Linked DNA regions of Homo sapiens: regions 2 and 3 are each linked to region 1. Evidence: promoter capture Hi-C in 16 types of primary human blood cells and fetal thymus (Javierre and others, 2016). All regions are on one chromosome and are shown on one strand. The core of a region is centred on a gene start or on the middle of the fragment in contact, and the rest is flanking DNA. Distances in the headings are between cores, read along the strand shown.

Region 1 (3,771 bases), core at 393-2,892:
GTTACTGCTTAAGTGGGCTGTGCAAATATTCCTGTCACTGGAGGTCCCTTTAACTGCGTGGGGGACCTTCAGAATCCAAGGGGCAAATAGAAACTTGGAGAAGTGAAGAGAAAAAAAGGGCACATTGAGATGGCACTGGAGATCCTTGCTAAATAAAGGAAGATGTTGGCAAGGAATACAGAAAAAAGTATGAAACAGAGACTACTGGAGGTATTCAAGTTGGAAAATGCAAAGTGTCCCTTTTTTTTTTTCACATCAACAACTTACGTTTATGCTAATCTACTTAAATGTTAAGTCTGGCCAAGCAATTAGACTATTTAACCTTGTTTGGAGTTAAATGCAGACAGTGTGTGAGACTGTGTTCACAGTACTGTATTACGTCTTTAGGAAAGAGGATCTAGATTTCATTTTGTCCTTCTCAGGATTGTGTCTGCTATGCAAGCACTGGTTTTCTATAGTCTGGCTTGTAAGGCACAAGGAGCAATTAAACAGAGGATTAAGGTAAACAGGTGTGTCCCATCACTTCCCCTCTTCATACTATATTGTTCATATTCTCTGAATTTCATACAAGCTACAGTGGAAGCAGTAAGTTAACTTTAAAAAATCATAAGATTGCCCATACTTCTAGGTTATGCAAATTGATTTCTGAATAAGCCCTTGTTTGCGACATCGCTGGTAAAGGCAGGATGTTAACTTAAAGAGATGCCAGATTTTGGACTTGTTAGTTATAGGCATCAAAACCTGGAACTAGGAAATGTATTTCCACGTATTACTTCCATTATCCTACTAATGTTAGAAACAGGCAACTAACCACATCCTCGACCCCAACCATATTTCAGGAGAGGCTGGCTGAATTTTGCAATATGATTCCAAAAGGGAGTATTTGCAGGGTCTTTGAAGCTATAAATCCCCTAGGAAGAGTCTTCCCCACCTGTCAGGACCTGGACAGTGTCCACAGAGGGTGCCGGGCGCACTACCGCCACGCGGCGCTGAGGTCTGCCTCTCGGGTTTTGGGAGAGCTCTTTTTATTCTAAATTACAGACTTTGCAGCCACCGGATATCCTCGCTGCATAACTGGCAGTGGCCATGTGGCTGCACTCGCGTTTCCTGACAACCACTGCATTATTTCCACTAATATCCTGTGTCCAAGGCCTCTCGCTTGGCGACTCCTCGTTCCCACCTCCACCGCCACCTCTTCCCTCGAGGGTAATCTCTCGACCGTGGCCCAAGCGCCTCGACAAAGCGGCAACCACCCAAAAGTTCATGAAAATGCACTTGGCAAAAGTGGGCCGCTAGTCCCCGCGGACAGCTCTAAGCGACCCCGTCCCAGCCGAGGAAAGCGCCCGGGCCCCGCAGAGTGCGCGCTGCGGGGCGGGCCCGCGGCCATGTGCTCCGCGCCGGGGCGGGGCACCCGCGGGTTCGCATTGTCCACTTTCCCCCGCACCCCGCCGCGTTCCGTCCCTCCCTATCTGCGGCGCACACGCGCTCAGAGCAAGCGGCGCGCCCGGGTCTGGAGCTGCAGCAGCTGCGGCAGCGGCGGGGGTGGTGCGGCGCGGGGCGGGGCGGGGCGGGGCGGGGCGGGGCGGGGCGGCACGGGGGCGGGCCCGGGGCGAGGCAGCTGGGGCGCCAGCGAGCTAGCGGCGAGCGCGGCGAGCAACGGAGAGGAGCGCGAGCAGCAGCATGGCGGGGCTCCGACGCCCGCAGCCCGGCTGCTACTGCCGCACCGCGGCGGCCGTGAACCTCCTGCTGGGCGTCTTCCAGGTCCTGCTGCCCTGCTGTCGCCCGGGAGGGGCTCAGGGACAAGGTCAGCCTTGCGCCGCTGGGCTCGCTCTGCCTCTCCACCCCGCCCCCGCTCTTTCTTTTAGGGAACTGCTGAAATCTATAAGAGGGCGAGGGGAGGAAAGGGAAAGGGGCAGGAGGAGGAAGGAAAGCTGTTGCGATTCTCCGCTGATAACATTTTCTGACCACAGCGTCCCGTCCCGCGCCTCTCTGCCCCGTACAGCTGGAGAGCGGGGCAGTCGCGGGGCTTGGGGACCGCTAGCCGCTCGCGCCCTGGAGCCTTTGTGCGCGGGCCCCTGCGCCCCGGGCGCAGCCCCCGCTTTGTGTGGCGCGCGCGGGTGCCCCGCAGCGGCCCGGCTTCCTGCAGCTTTGTTCCCCCGAGCCTGGCCGCCCAGGGTCCACACTCCAGATGCTCGGGCTGCGGAGCCCGGAGTGCCTCGTGGGGTGTCTTCACTCCCACTTCGTCCCCCCACCCCCAGCACGAGCACCCCGAGCCTGCCTGCACGCTGTCGCCTTCGCGTCCGAGGGGCCGCCGGCTCACACCCCACCCATTGTATTTTTATCCTTGGCTCGCCCCTGGGATGGCCTCTGTTCCCAGGAGGAAAAAGAGACGTGTTTTGGTGAGGCGGGGGGCACGGAGGGACGGTAGGGGAAACAGGAAGCGTTTCTTTAGCGTGCATTAAAAACGTGGTGTATTTTTTGGTGTTCCTGCAGCGATTGAGCCGTTGCCGAACGTGGTGGAGCTGTGGCAGGCAGAAGAAGGGGAACTCCTGCTGCCCACTCAGGTGAGGACGACCAGGTGACAGGGCGGCTGTGGGTGTACGAGGGAGGAGAGGCGGGGAGGCCCCCGGTCCTCCCCACCCCCTGTCCAAGCGGCACAGGCGTTCGGGCCACTTTGCAAGGCAAATAAACGTTAGGGGCCGAGCCTGAACACCTGGCAACGGTGGCCTTCCCGGCTCCTCCCACGCCATGTGACAGGGCCTGAGGCAGGCCGGCCCCAAGTTCAGAAGGTGGGAACCCAGGCCACCTCAGCAGGGAAGCGGCCAGCGGTCTGTTCGGCCGTGGGTGTCCTGGGTGCACACTGTTCCCTAAGTGAGCTGGTGCTGTGTGGATGGCAAGTGGCTAAGAGGTTGAGGACAACAGGAGTATTGATTTCATAAATGTTAGAGTGGTATTTGCCATTAGCGTTAAGTAGCTTTGGGATGGAGATGTGACTCTCAAGGATTGTCATCTTGGATTTTCTCCAAGTGCCCTTAATTCCTGTTAAAATACACCCACTTAAGAACTTGAATTTCTGGTTTTTTTCTCTGTATGATGATATGATGATTGCGTGTAGAAAAATAATTACTGACGTTTTATTGGGAATCTGTAGCATCATAGAGGGTTTATTGCTGCAACAGATACAGTACTGCAAAGCTTTTAACTTTTACAAGAAATTCCCATTGACTGTGAAGTGTGCACATTTAAATATAATGTTGTTGACTGCCTTTCACCAGTAACGGTAGTGATCCAAAATGCATTTTTTGGGTGGGAGTGGCTTGAATTATAAGGAAATATTTAGCTTGTGTGCAGTACTTTTTAAGATGTTCATTACTTCCCACGGTGGTGGCAGCACTTAATTCTGTGTTGTGTCTTGCGGCTGTTTAGAAAAACAGGATGTCTAGCTATAACTTTACCGGAGAGGCTGTCCAGTTTTACATTTCAGTTTTCTCCCTCCTATGTGAAACATTCAGAGTGCTGGTTTTGAGATATTTAGAATATTCATTTTGATCAGGGCTAATGAATAACAGCTTCAAGGCAGAGAGGTGATTTTAGAGGAGAATTTTCCTGGACCCTCCTTGAAGGCCAGCAGCCTGAATGAGACAGGTCTTTTGAGAAAGGGCCCCATCAGGATGAGGAGCAGATAGTTTTTCCTTCTCCTAAAAATTTATTCCCAAATGGATTTTTTCCCCGATTTTAAATAATATACATGTGTTTTTGAAGGTTTGGAAG
Region 2 (3,771 bases), core at 448-2,947, 680 kb before region 1:
GTGCAAAGGAGATATATAGCTTCTTGATAGATTAAAACCACCACTTAGGCAGTGTCTTGTTGAAGTTAGTGAAAACAGGTAGGGGTGTGTGTGTGTGTGTGTGTGTGTGTGTGTGTGTGTTTTCCCAAACTGTAAATTGTTTGCTTTGGGACCAAGGAAAGGAGAATGCAGGGATTCTTCTAGTTTGATATTGAAATCTCTCCTTTAAAACATTAGTGTTTCTAAATTCCTTCCTAGACTTACAGAAGGAAATGAGGCTGCCCACTTTATTTCCTGATTTGTGGTTTTGAGGTTTCTTCTTAGGGATAGCTGTTTGTGGTCCATGCTCTGGAGATCCAGTGGATTTACAAACTGATGTGCCTATCTTTAATATGTATTAAATATCACCAACCAACTAGGCACAGTTCAGAGTAAAAAATTTAAATTCTAGTTGTATTTTGCTTTCATTTTCTTAATTTTTTTTGCTTGAGGCATGTACCTTAGGATTTGATTTGGCTTTGCTATGAAAAACAAACAAGATGTTTCAGTGGTGTGGTCCTTTGGAATGTTGTTGCTTATCTTGACATCCCCTTTCCCTCCATTCTGTATGAGATATTTTAATGATTGTTTCTCTCTTGTGAATACGTTAGTATCCTTCCAAGCTTAATGTAAGTTTTAGAGTACATATTTGAACTTACTGATTTGGTTGTGAATTATTTGTTGATTGAGGGTTGCAGTTCTAAAGGTCTGATACTTTTTTTTTTAGAATGTTAACTTGAAGAGACCTATACAGCTCATCATAGTCTATCATGAGTATCCAGTTTCTTCTGCTCACAGAATAAGTTTTCCTCTGTCTAGCAACCTCACTTGGGGGAGCAGTCAACATAAGTTTATAGAGAATAGCGTATGCTAGGCTGGGCACGGTGCCTCACACCTGTAATCCCAACACTTTGGGAGGCTGTGGCGGGTGGATCACTTGATGTCAGGAGTTCAAAACCTGGCCAACATGGTGAAACCCCATCTCTCCTAAAAATAAAAAAATTAGCCGGGTGTGTGTTGCATGCCTGTAGTCCCAGCTACTTGGGAGGGGCTGAGGCAGGAGAATCGCTTGAACCCAGGAGGCGGAGGCTGCAGTAAGCCAAGATCCCACCACTTCACTCCAGCCTGGCCAACAGAGTGAGACTCCATCTCAAAAACAACATCAACAACAGACTAGCTTATGCTAAATTAGTTTCCTTTTAAGGTAATGACAAATTCGGAAGATATTTTATATCTAACACTGTAACAGTTACATTTATTTGCTTACCATGTGCATTAAGCTAAGTGCTTTACATTATTATCTCAAATGATAACCTTATAAAGTGGCTAAAGTCCTCATTTCTGTAGGTGAAGAAAATAAAGCTGAATGATTAACTGAAGCTAAAGTAGTCTGCTCAGAATTGCGCTGGTGGAGCCAGTGCATGGCTCCACCTACGTTGTCTGACTCTAGACTACTACTGTAGACAACTTCTACCATGCGTCCATTATGTCCTTTTTGAAATGAGTTGGAGATATATCACCTGACTTTCTATCAGGTGTTGAGAAAAGGTTGTTTCCTTTCTTAATCTTCAGTGGATGAACATCTGGTTGAATATCATACTGAGAAGTTTGACAAAAAAGTGAATTTGGTGGAGGCAGTTGGTAGGGGTTTCCTATGGGGATGGATATAAGTCTCTGGTGTGTGTGTGTGTGTGTGTTAGAACACACACACCTACTTGAAATAAAGAATTGTAAGTATTATAAATTCTTGAAATGAAGATTCAAATAATAAGCAGATGGTGTGTGTGTATATGAGGAGGGGAAAATGTGAAAATGAAGATTATAAGTAATAAACTGGGCATTGTAAGAGTCTGGAAGTATAAATAAATTTTAGAATAATACATTTGGGATGGAAAGAATAAATTCAGAATGGAAGAAGGAGTAAATTAAACAGGAAACTTTAATATGGTTATGGATGAAAAACTAAAATATTTGTACAGAATGGAAAGTGAGTTGTTCCACTTAATATGGAAGTTGATGACTTAGGATCATGACAATCTAAAAGTCAGATATGTAGCACTACTTCTGGATGTATGAAAAAGACTATTGGCCTGAAAATAATTTTGTTTTCCTTGATCTTTAGTAGCTTTTGGCAGTCATGGAAGCTGCCGAATGGCTCTTGCAGATTAACAGATATTCTTTATGAGACAAAAGTATTTATTTTCTTTTTCTTTTTCCTTTATTCCTATTCTCCTCTTTCTCCCATCTCTCATTCCATTCTCCTCCATTCCTTCTAAGCCTTTGTCTTAGGATGGGCATAGGCAGGTGTTGCTCAAACCTTTAGTTGTTCCTGAAAAAGGAATATAAAGTCTCTTTATGAAATACACTTTTTTCCCTTAATGAACATACTTATTTAAGTGAATGCTGTTTTTCAGAGTAGGCAATCTGCTTTGAAATCTTCTTCTAGTATGACTGTCGGTTCAGATTGAGACATACAAAAATGAAGTTCTTGCCTGGCTTCGTCACTTCGTGACCTCAGTCACCAGAATCTGAATAACTTTGGGTATTTGGAAAAAATCAGATCCTCTCTTGAAAGACAAAGATTTGGGGATCTGAAGGTAGTTGCAAAACAGGCAATTGCTCAAATCTTTTGTGAAAATATGGCAGTGTCTTTACCATGTTCTCACCTAAGATAAGAATTTATATTTTATTTTTGTATATCTGTGATAGCATTGGACTAGCAGCTCCTTGATGTTGAAGCTTGAGCCTCATTGGTCCCTGGGGAACAGTGACATACTGCCTTTGGAACAGGATCATAAAAGCAGCAGAGTTAGTGGTAAGCCCTAAATCTTCCAGAGGAGGGAGTCAGTTCGCCAACTCCAGTTTCTGCTAGCCTGAGATACTCATCATGGCACACATAAAAAATGATTATAATTGTATGGCAGACTAGAGCCAGGCCCTCCTTGGTTCCTTGGAAGCTGTGGAGTGGGGGAATGGGTCACAATTTCAGCACATCTGTAATCCATTCTTGGCACACTGTTTGGAAATCTTTGCCCTAGAGAAAAGGAATATGTTACTCTGTTTAATACCTTCTGTTTGTTTAGCATGTAATAATTTACAAAGCACTTTCACATACATCCTCATTTTATTTTTACTCCAGCCATACCAAATAGGTAGAGCAGATAACATCACCACATTAGAAATAAAGAAATTGAGATTTAGGTAAAGTGCTTTGTCCAGGGTCACATACCTAAAAAGGGATGGATCAGGAATTTATACCCTCAGTGGAAAGAGCCCCTGGGTTTAAGCCCGTGATCTGTAATCTCTAAAATGGCCAGGACCTTATCTGTTTTGTTTCAGTGCTATATATTGCCCAGGGTGGTCTTGAACTCCTGGGCTCAAGCGATCTTCCCGCCTTGGCCTCCCAAAGTGCTGGGATAACAGGCATGAACCACTGCATCCAGCATAAGTATTATAAATTCTTGAAATAAAGATTCAAGTAATAAGCAGAAAATGGAAAGGATGTTTTTTCTATTCCTCTAATCTCTCCACCCACCACACCTCTCTCCCAGTTAATTTGAAAAGTAGGTATTGGGGAATCAGATGAAATATATGAGAAAGCTGTAAACCTGCACTGTCTAATGCCAGGGATGCTAGCCACATGTAGCTATTTAAGTTAGTTAAAATTAAATACAATAAAAGATTCAGTTCCTCATTGTACCAGCCACATTTCAGTGTCAGTATCATATGTGGCTGGTGGCTACTTTATTGGAC
Region 3 (3,771 bases), core at 362-2,861, 620 kb before region 1:
CTCAGCCTCCCAAGTAGCTGGGACCACAGTCATGTGCCACCACGCCCGGCTAATTTTTGTATTTTCAGTGGTGACAGGGTTTCGCCATGTTGGCCAGGCTGGTCTTGAACTCTTGACCTCAGGTGATCCTCCTGCCCTGGTCCCCCAAAGTGCTGGGATTACAGGCATGAGCCACTGCACCCGGTGTCTTCTTTTTATTAAGATGGGGCAGCAACAGCCAGATGTGGAGAGGATAATCATCTTAGTATTATCTCAGTTTTTTACAGCAAAAATATTTCTGCTTCTAAATAAATGCATTTTATTTAGAAAATAAAAATAAAATTATTATTTTAAGAATTATTCTTTAAAATTATTCTTTTAAAAATTATTCTTTTAAAAAAGAGTATTACAATTTAATCTAAATAATTCAAATTACTCTGATTTGTAAACTGTGTGTAGTATTTGTAATGGATGCTGTTATAGTGCTGGTCAAAATTAATTAGAAATTTGCAACTCATACCATGAGTTTAAGAGCAGAAGCAAATCATACTAACTCCACATGGTTGAAACTTCTTGTGAATTAATTTATAGTTGGTAGATTTAAAGACATTGCCTCCTTAGACCTAGCTAAAATGGAATTTTTCCCGTGGAAGGCCCAAAACAAAAATCCACTAATGTAGGGTGTTTTTACCTATGAACACTTTCTCTAGCAAAATGTCCATACACAAACCTACCAAATTTTGCATTCAGATTTAGTGAGCTTAGGACCCCCTGAACCCTGCATAAGGGTTCTCAGGTTCCCTGAGTCTTAAGAACCCCCCACCTGTAAGTTTTAAGTGATATCACAGAGTATTCGTTCAGTAGAACTACCTTAGAGATCTCGGAGTCTCACTATGTTATTTTATAGTGGAGAAAAAAGGCCCTTGAAGTTGTTATGGAATTACCCAGTATTAATTAAATAGCTGTACCAAAAGCTTATGTGATTTGACTATAACTGCAGTGAGTGCAAGAGCGCTCTCTTTCATTACCTTATTTCCAGGGTTTGGTAACAGTTTTTGGCACTTACTACCAAAGAGGGCCTTTCAATAAATGGTGAATAAATGAATGTTTATTCACGTAAGAACGAGGACGAGGACTAGAAACCAGATTTTTAGACTTCTCTGAAAAACCAGGGAAGAGATATTGTAATCTTATATTTGATACATCTTGTGTCCTTAATTTCCCTGCATGTGGTATTTGGGTTTGTGAGTGTGAGTCTTTGTTGTTATAGTTTTATTTTTAATGATTTTGTTGAGCTAAGTCGTTTCTTCATTCCCTTGTACTTAGCAGTCTGCAATATCATACACTACGATCTGCAGAAGATTTGGGAAAGAAATACAAGAAATTGTTGGAACACTGTTCCTCCAACTCCTACCCCCACCAGTCACATGTTGTAACTTATTTATCTCCTTTTCCCAAGAGATTGGAATCACTGTTAGGTCAGAGATAGTGTGTATACACAGCACAAGTTTTGGTTCATAGTAGTTGCTCAATAAAAGAATGAATTCTAGTAAATAGACTTAAAAGTTGACATCTTTTCTCCTTCAGCCATCCTACCCTAGGGTTTTCATAGCATGTGATTACAGTTTGTCTCCATTCTATATAGGAATGCAATATAATGTTTCCACGTTACTCACACATAAAAAATGTAGTAGCTCGGTCAATGGCAATAATGATTTGATGGGGGCTTTTTCAGAGAGCCAGTTTTGACCAAATATGTATGTTGATCCCTTTTAGAGGTATGGCAAATGGTTTTCAAGGATTGTTTAACCCATACAAATCTAGATTCATTTTAATACTGTTTGCTTTTCAGCTATAGGCTATACTTTTAATACTATTACTACAAATTAAAATTTTAAGTATATTTTTAATATACACATACATTAAATTAATTCTGGATTGAGAGTCCTGTTGAAAATACAATTCATAATGAAAGGTTGAAGGCTTATCTGTCTTAATTATAATCTGAGAGTGTGCCCTTATTTATAAACAAAAGCTATTAGTAATATGTTTTTTTTTATTTCTTGGAGGAATTTTGTTGAAAATACAATTCATAATGAAAGGTTGAAGGCTTATCTGTCTTAAATTATAATCTGAGAGTGTGTCGTTATTTATAAACAAAAGCTATTAGGAATATGTCGTTTTTAAATTTTTTGAAGGAATTATTTTGAATGTAGATACATATAAATATTTCCACAGTGATAGTATGTGAATGAATTCAGTATTTCTTTGATGCAAGTTGGTACATGATTCAAGCTTTTGAACTACTTAGAATCTAGACTAAGTGGGTGAGGCCAAGAGGGTAGGCAGTGAACCACCAAAAGGTACTTGTAAGTTCTTGTTAAATATTGTTGAATGAATGGGAGAGAGGGAGAAAAGAAGATTGAAATTGTGTGTCTGTGGCAGGCAGGTGTGTGTGTGTATGGTGGTAAATGGAAAAAAATCAATAAAAATGTTAGATTTACTCTCTTGATTAGATGGAATAAGATACAGGAGGATATTGTGATCATAAAGTGAGTTATTAAACTTATTTAAAGTGAGAATCTAGAAGTGTTGCTTCCGAAGTGATGACAAGGTCTAAGAGTGGCAATTTGAGTTTAGGTTGCCTGAGTGGAATATGGGGTATGAAAGATGAAAGGCATTAGAAATGAAGATGTTAATGAAATCTGAGACTAAGGTGTAGATTGGGTTATACTAAGTCTAAAATGTCTTTTATCTGCCCTGACACTTTTTTGGCATGTTGTCCAACTACAGATTCCCAAACCTGATCCAGATTACCAATTTTACGCATTTCTGCAAGTATACGGAGGGAAAATAAAATCACATACCTTTACATATCATTATTACTATCCCCTGTCATTCTGCATCAGCATAGGTAGGCAGGCTCATGGAACAGATTTTAAGTGTTTTACAATTTATATTTTAAAATATAGCAACTTACTACCTACCATAACATTAGTGGACTGTATTTTTAATGATCGGTGAAAACTTTCAGCCTAGACAGCGAATATATCAGCTTGGAAGGAATTGCTAACTGAACATCTATAATCATTTCCTGAAAATGTGCCCACCAACATGCAAAAGGTTAGAAACACCCAGTTTAATGGTGAGAGTTAGGGATAAAGCAGAAGCCCTAGATGTGCCAAAGTCTTCAATAAATATTTGAAATTGACTGGAAAGAAGGTAGATGACAATGTTGAGGTGGGGACGAGGGCAGTGAGGAAGGTGACACACAGGAAACGGGGGGGTTGGGTAGGGGCAGAGTTGCACAAGAATGGAAAGCAGTTCTCTACAACAGTTCCTCAAAATAGACTAAGGATCGCCTGCATCAGAATCACCTGATTTCCTTGTTTTGAAATTCGGATTTCTGGGCTTCACATTCCAACTCAGTGAGAATCACCACACAGCTAAGAGCAATCTGCATTTTTAACAGGATCCTCAGGTGATTCCTACTGAAATTAAGGTTTGAGAACTGGTTGTTTAGAAGTACCAATAGAGAGTTTAGAAAATGCTGACCCTGCCTTCTAACAATAGAATATTGATAAGTAGAATGTTGGAAGATAATCAGTTTTATAAAACTCAAGATAATTGTGGAGAAGCAGAGAGGCCACTTAAGGGGGGTTAATAGTGTTACAGAACTGGGGATGTGGAGGCTGTTGTAATAATAGCTTTGCTTCTGGCAGATACTTTTTATAGACAGCTAACTGTTAAACTAACAAAGGAGATTTTAAATTAACAGAATTCATCAAACAT

Evidence for each region. Contacts are between HindIII fragments. The CHiCAGO score rates a contact against its expected background, and 5 or more counts as called.
Region 2: a fragment that was not itself captured here is called in contact with the fragment with the promoter of TMEM131L in region 1 in 1 of 17 cell types (fetal thymus); the score reaches 5.2 in fetal thymus.
Region 3: a fragment that was not itself captured here is called in contact with the fragment with the promoter of TMEM131L in region 1 in 4 of 17 cell types (total B cells, naive B cells, fetal thymus and 1 more); the score reaches 11.3 in total B cells.

What each region holds. Positions count from the first base shown.
Region 1 is chr4:153,464,718-153,468,488 of GRCh38, forward strand. TMEM131L (transmembrane 131 like) reads left to right here and starts at 1,643. Exons shown (of 35, transcript NM_001131007.2): 1 at 1,643-1,804; 2 at 2,494-2,564. The coding sequence starts at 1,681. RefSeq lists enhancers at 1,104-1,283, 2,654-3,319, 2,814-2,903, 3,274-3,333 and silencers at 1,324-1,473, 1,514-1,613, 1,984-2,343. The HindIII fragment of the contact is 8,794 bases long and covers 1-3,193 here.
Region 2 is chr4:152,782,140-152,785,910 of GRCh38, forward strand. The region is part of intron 1 of ARFIP1 (ARF interacting protein 1); the gene reads left to right. Among named protein-coding and RNA genes, the nearest start is that of ARFIP1, 4.1 kb to the left of the region's middle. The HindIII fragment of the contact is 2,116 bases long and covers 640-2,755 here.
Region 3 is chr4:152,847,247-152,851,017 of GRCh38, forward strand. All of the region lies in intron 2 of ARFIP1 (ARF interacting protein 1), which reads left to right. Among named protein-coding and RNA genes, the nearest start is that of ARFIP1, 69 kb to the left of the region's middle. RefSeq lists enhancers at 1-459, 3,171-3,465, 3,352-3,771. The HindIII fragment of the contact is 1,321 bases long and covers 952-2,272 here.